Linked DNA regions of Homo sapiens: region 2 is linked to region 1. The links are contacts of gene promoters, found by promoter capture Hi-C in human tissues and cell types (Jung and others, 2019). All regions are on one chromosome and are shown on one strand. The core of a region is centred on a gene start or on the middle of the fragment in contact, and the rest is flanking DNA. Distances in the headings are between cores, read along the strand shown. Region 1 holds the start of PABPN1L (PABPN1 like, cytoplasmic). Region 2 has its middle 22 kb from the start of ZNF778.

Region 1 (3,036 bases), core at 537-3,036:
TTTTTAGTAGAGACAGGGTTTCACCATGTTGGCCAGGCTGGTTTTGAACTCCTGACCTTAAGTGATCCGCTCACCTCGGCCTCCCAGACTGCTGGGATTATAGGCGTGAGCCACCATGCCCGGCCTCCAAACCCTCTTTGGAAAAAGCAGAGCACAGATGTTGCCTGTGGCTTCGTGTTTCTTTTTCCTGGGTGCACCCTTAACCTTGGCAAGATACACCTCTAAACTGATTGATTGAGACCCATCTCAGACACCTTCTGGCTTTTACAGAGGTGAGAACAGACTGGGTGCAGGAGCCTGGGTTCCCAGGCTGTGGCAGCCTCCATGTCCACCTGCTCCCCGAGCCCCCAGCCCAAGATGGAGGAAGGGCCGCCCTGCGTGGGTGGTGCATGGTGCAGCAGTGCAGCTCCAGCCTAGGCCACGCCCTGTCTCTCTCTCCTCCCCCAGTCCCAAATTCCCAGGAATCCCAGCCCCACTGGCTAAACACCGGGGTGCAGTCACAGAGAGGATGGCCTCGGCCTGGGGGTAGGAGCTGTGCAGGGGGCCCCGTCTCCCACCACCAATGGCAGGGGTAAGAGCCATGCATGACCCCCTGGCCCCGAGTCCTTCACAGAGTGGGTGGGAGACGGCAGCACTGGAGATGAAGGCCAGAGCAGACTCCAGCAGCCGCGGTGGCAGGTGCAGAGGGAGGCGCAAGGGCGGACACGGGTCACCTCCTGCTGCAACCCTGCATGGGTGAAGCCAGGTGCAGACACCACCGGATGCCCACTGAATTCCGCCACAGTAACTCACGCCGTCACTCCCCACGGAGACCCCGCCCCACAATAACTCACGCCGTCACTCCCCACGGAGCCCCCGCCCCACAGCAGAATAATTCTGGCCTCATGGAAGTGGCTCCCACCTAAAAGATGACCCAGACCAGGTGCGGTGCTCACGCCTGTAATCCCAGCACTTCGGGAGGCCGAGTCGGGCGGATCACCTGAGGTCAGGAGTTCGAGACCAGCCTGGGCAACATGGTGAAACCCTGTCTCTACTAAAAAGACAAAAAAAATTAGCTGGGCATGGTGGCAGGTGCCTGTAATCCCAGCTACTCAGGAGGCTGAGGCAGGAGAATCACCCGAACCTGGGAGGCAAAGGTTGCCGTGAGCCGAGATCGCGCCACCGCACTCCAGACTTGGCAACAAAGCAAGACTCCTGCCTAAAAAAAAAAGAAAAAAAAAAAAAAGGCCCAGAATAAGGGTTAGGGAGGCAAGGGTCCCTGGGGACTCCATGGGGGTCAGGATGCAGAGACAGCTGTTGCTGCCCCTCCTCTGGGCCCAGGACCCCGCCCCAACCTGCCTCGGCCCTCTCATCCCATGCACCTGCTCTCGGTCTCTGCTCAGGCCCTGCCTCTCCTGGTCGGAAGCCACCTCTCCAGCCTGCTTGGTCCCTGGTACTAGAAGAAACCACTCCCGTGTTCCCACTTAGATCGAGTGTTCATGCAGTGTGGCGTTCGTGCCGTGTGGATGCTGCTGAGGTGTGAACCCTGTCACAGACCAAGGCTCCAGTGAGCCACAGCGTGGCCAGGCGGAAGCAGAAGAGACCGGTGACCCCCACTCAACTCAGCCTCTCCTTCCTCCAGGGAGAGTGTCCTGGAGGTACCTGTCCGAGTGACAGGGAAGGGGCGGGGCCGGGAGCCAAGGCTGGAAGCTCAGCCCCACTCAGCCTTTGCAAATGCTCTAGTGGGAGCAGCTGGCCTCAGGGGAGGGCTTAAAACTCCAGGAGAGCCTGGGCAGGTGCGGACGCGAGGGGAGTGGAGGGGAGGCCTCGCCTGGCCCACCTTCCTCCTGCCCCTCTACCATGTGGCCCTTCCCGAGCCGCTCTCTCTTCCCACCCCCGACTCAGGCCTGGCTCCAGACGGTCTCCTCAGACCCTGAGGCCCAGGGCTGGGGGGCCTGGAACGAGACCAAGGAGATTCTGGGGCCAGAGGGTGGGGAAGGGAAGGAGGAGAAAGAGGAGGAAGAGGATGCAGAGGAAGACCAGGATGGGGATGCAGGCTTTCTGCTGTCTCTGCTGGAGCAAGAGAACCTGGCTGAGTGCCCATTGCCTGACCAGGTAACAGCTGTGTGGAGGCCCTGGGGATCTCAGGGGACCTGGGGCACAGGGGCTGGTGGAGACACGGGGTCTGGGTGACGGATGGCTGCAGCTGACTTAGGAGGGGAGAGGGCCATTGCCCACCTGCCTGGACGAAGGTGGCAAGGAGACCCCCCGCCCCCAGCCACACAGACTGCAGGGTCAAGGTGGCCTCTCTCGCCTGGGGAAGGGCCCTTGAGGTGCGGTTTCGGGGGCTTCTCTGCAGGGGCGAGTTCATCCCCAGCCAGCTGCCCCAGGAAGGAGTGTCCCTGTCCAGAGAAGGGCTGCCCCTTGGGGCTGTGACCCTCTGCTGGAGCTGGCAGGCCACACACCCACCTTCCTTGAGCAGAGCCTGCAGGCTGCCTGCCCGGCTCAGGGCCGTGTGTCGGCAGGAGCTGGAGGCCATCAAGATGAAGGTGTGTGCCATGGAGCAGGCCGAGGGGACGCCACGGCCTCCAGGAGTGCAGCAACAGGCCGAGGAAGAGGAGGGCACCGCGGCCGGGCAGCTGCTGAGCCCTGAGACCGTGGGTAGGAACCAAGGGCACAGGCCGCCCCCCACTGAGCAAGGGTCCCACAGTTTCCATTAAGGTTGGGCCTGGCAGGCTCCAAGGTGTCACCTCCCCTATAAGCCTGGGCGACCTTCCCCGTGAGAGGAGTGAGGAAGGAACCAAGGGCCTGCGGGCCTGAGCTGTGTTCTCCGCAGGCTGCCCCCTCTCTGGGACCCCCGAGGAGAAGGTGGAGGCTGACCACAGATCCGTCTACGTGGGCAACGTGAGTGGTGGGCGGGGTGAAGGGGCAGGCAGCGAATGGGGCCCCATCTCTACCAGAGGGTCTGGCGCCCGGCCATGGGCCAGGCAGCCTTGCTGGGAAGGGGGTCTGACCCTGGGGGCAGCCCCGTCACCTTGAGGAAACACTGGCCTGGGC
Region 2 (3,214 bases), core at 488-2,987, 370 kb before region 1:
TGTCACTGTCGCCCAGCACACGAGCCCCTCTCCGATCCCCCGAGTTCCTCACCGAGTCCCTTACCCCCGGAAGTCCCTCGCTCTCCTCCCTTCCCCCCGGAAGTCCCTCGCTCTCCTCCCTTCCCCCCGGAAGTCCCTCGCTCTCCTCCCTTCCCCCCGGAAGTCCCTCGCTCTCCTCCCTTCCCCCCGGAAGTCCCTCGCTCTCCTCCCTTCCCCCCGGAAGTCCCTCGCTCTCCTCCCTTCCCCCCGGAAGTCCCTCGCTCTCCTCCCTTCCCCCCGGAAGTCCCTCGCTCTCCTCCCCTTCTGAGCGGTGACCCCCACCCCGAAGCCGGCGAGGCACCGCGGAACCCGGTCTGCCTGCGCTACCGCCCCCTGCTGGCCAGGCCCTCTTCCCAATCGCCCCGAAACCATTCACATCACCCACGTGTGCACGTTTTGTCCACATTTAGATCCCTGATCCATTTGCAGCTTATTCCTGTGAACGGTGTAATTTTTTGGGGGGCGGGGGGAAGGCGGGGTCTCGCTCTGTCACCCAGGCTGGAGTGCAGTGGCGCCATCTCGGCTCACTGCAAGCTCCACCTCCCGGGCTCAACCAATTCTCCTGCCTCAGCCCCCTGAGTAGCTGGGATTACAGGCCCGCACCACCATGCCTGGCTAACTTTCGTATTTTTAGTACAGATGGGGTTTTTCTTTTCTTTTCTTTTCTTTTGAGATGGAGTCTCACTGCTGCCCAGGCTGGAGTGCAGTGGCGCGATCTCGGCTCGCTGCAAGCTCCGCCTCCCGGGTTCACGCCATTCTCCTGGCTCAGCCTCCCGAGTAGCTGGGACTACAGGCGCCCGCCACCACGCCCGGCTAATTTTTTTGTATTTTTAGTAGAGACGGGGTTTCACTGTGTTAACAAGGATGGTCTCGATCTCCTGACCTCGTGATCCGCCTGCCTCGGCCTCCCAAAGTGCTGGGATCACAGGCGCGAGCCACTGCGCCTGCCCGAGATGGGGTTTCACCATGTTGGCCAGGCTGGTCTCGAACTCCTGATCTCAACTGATCTGCCCCCCCTTGGCCTCCCAAAGTGCTAGGATTACAGGCGTGAGCCGCCACACTCGACCTGAACGGTGTAATTTATACATGTAAAACCATCTTGTTCAGACAGCTCACCAGTTGTCCTAGCACCTTTCATTACAAACTGCATTTTTGCCCCACTGATCTGAAATACCCACTTTATTAACTAAATTTCCATGTTGCTAGGTCTATTTCCAGATATTCCATTTTTGTCCATCTGTCTGCTTCCTGGTCATGTGTCACATACCTTAATTACAGCGGCTTTAGAGGATGCTGCAGTGTCCACAGGGAAGCATCAGTTTTGTCTCCTGGGTTTCTTGGGCACCATCAGACGTCTGTGCCCCCACATGAACTTCAGCGTCAATCTGCATTAACTCCACAAAAAGCTTTTGGTGCTGTTGTAACTGGGATTATGTTTCATTTCTGAATTAAGAATGGGATTTTTATGATGTTGTCATCCCATCAAAGAACAAGGAATTTGCCCGTTTGTTCAAGTCTATGTGGTTTTTTTTTTTTTTTTTTTTTTTTTTTTTTTTTTTTGAGACAGTCTTGCTCTGCCACCCAGGCTGGAGTGCAGTGGTGTGATCTTGGCTCACTGCAAGCTCCACCTCCTGAGTTCACACCATTCTCCTGTCTCAGCCTCCTAAGCAGCTGGGACTACAGGCGCCCGCCACCACACCTGGCTAACTTTTTGTATTTTTCATAGAGATGGGGTTTCACCATGTTAGCCAGGATGGTCTCGATCTCCTGACCTCGTGATCCACCCGCCTCAGCCTCCCAAAGTGCTGGGATTGCAGGCGTGAGCCATCGCGCCTGGCCTAGAAGTTTTTAATTAGCCTGGTGTGGTGGTGTGCACCTGTAGTCTCAGCTACTTGAGAGGATGAGGAGGAAGGATCGCTTGAGCCCTGGAGGTCGAGGCTGCAGTGAGCTGTGATCACACCACTGCACTGCAGCCTGTGGGACAGAGCAAATCCCCATCTAAAAAAAAAAAGTGTTTTAAAGTTTCCTCATGGCCGGGCACGGCCCGGTGGCTCACGCCTGTAACCCCAGCATTTTGGGAGGCCGAGACGGACAGATCATGAGGTCAGGAGTTTGAGACCAGCCAGGCCAACATGGTGAAATCCCGTCTCTACTAAAAATACAAAAATTAGCCGGGCGTGGTGGCAGGTACCTGTAATACCAGCTACTTGGGAGGCTGAGGCAGGAGAATCACTTGAACCCAGGAGGTGGAGGTTGCAGTGAGCCGAGATCATGCCACTGCACTCCAGCCTGGATGACAGAGCGAGACTCTGTCTCAAACAAACAAACAAACAAAAAGTTTCCTCATTTAGGTTTTATACATTTCTTGATAAATTTATTTCTAAGCATTGTTTTATTGCTATTATAAATAAGTTTTCTCTACTATCATATCACCTCACTGGTTATTGGTTGTGTAGATGAAGACCATCTATGTTTTGACGGCAACTTCACCTCCTCTAACTTACTAAATGTTTTTACTGATTCTACAGGGCTTTCCATGTATATCATATAATGCACACAAGAGATAGTTCACTTTTTTGCAAATCTGTTTTGCCCAATTGCATTAGGTAACACTTCCAGTACACACACACACACATATAGCTACAGACACAGGCGTCCTAAGAAAGTATTCACCAATTCCTATTTTGAGTGCGTCTATCAATAGTAGGTACCACATTTTCCCAAAGGCTTCATCAACACCTATGGATACAATCACATGCCTTATCTTCTTAGATGGATTCATATGGTGTAGTATTTAATAGGCTTTCTAATTGAACCAGTTGCAGTCTTAAATTCCACTTGGTCATGGTTTATTATTTTCTCAATGTGGTTTTGTATTATTTGCTAATATTTAACATAACTAATTTGAATCAATATAATTAACACTGTAATTTTTCATTTTTGTGGTCTTTTATCACATTTTGCTTTTAACTTTTATTTATGAGATGGAGTTTTGCTCTTGTTGCCCAGGCTGGAGTGCAATGGCGCTATCTCGGCTCATTGCAACCTCCACCTCCCGGGTTCAAGAGATTCTCCTGCCTCAGCCTCCCAAGTAGCTGGGATCACAGGTGCCTGCCACCATGCCCGGCTAATTTTGTATTTTTAGTACAGACAGGGTTTCGCCATGTTGCCCAGG

Evidence for each region. Contacts are between HindIII fragments. The study calls those that stand out against the background at their distance.
Region 2: a contact is called between a fragment that was not itself captured here and the fragment with the promoter of PABPN1L in region 1, in 1 of the 25 tissues and cell types used here (lymphoblastoid cells).

Annotation. Positions count from the first base shown.
Region 1 is chr16:88,865,410-88,868,445 of GRCh38, reverse strand. It overlaps PABPN1L (PABPN1 like, cytoplasmic), which reads left to right and starts at 1,786. Exons shown (of 7, transcript NM_001080487.4): 1 at 1,786-2,094; 2 at 2,505-2,640; 3 at 2,816-2,883. The coding sequence starts at 1,840. The HindIII fragment of the contact is 11,880 bases long and covers 1-3,036 here.
Region 2 is chr16:89,238,130-89,241,343 of GRCh38, reverse strand. No RefSeq gene overlaps it. Among named protein-coding and RNA genes, the nearest start is that of ZNF778, 22 kb to the right of the region's middle. RefSeq lists a silencer at 227-316. The HindIII fragment of the contact is 4,092 bases long and covers 1-3,214 here.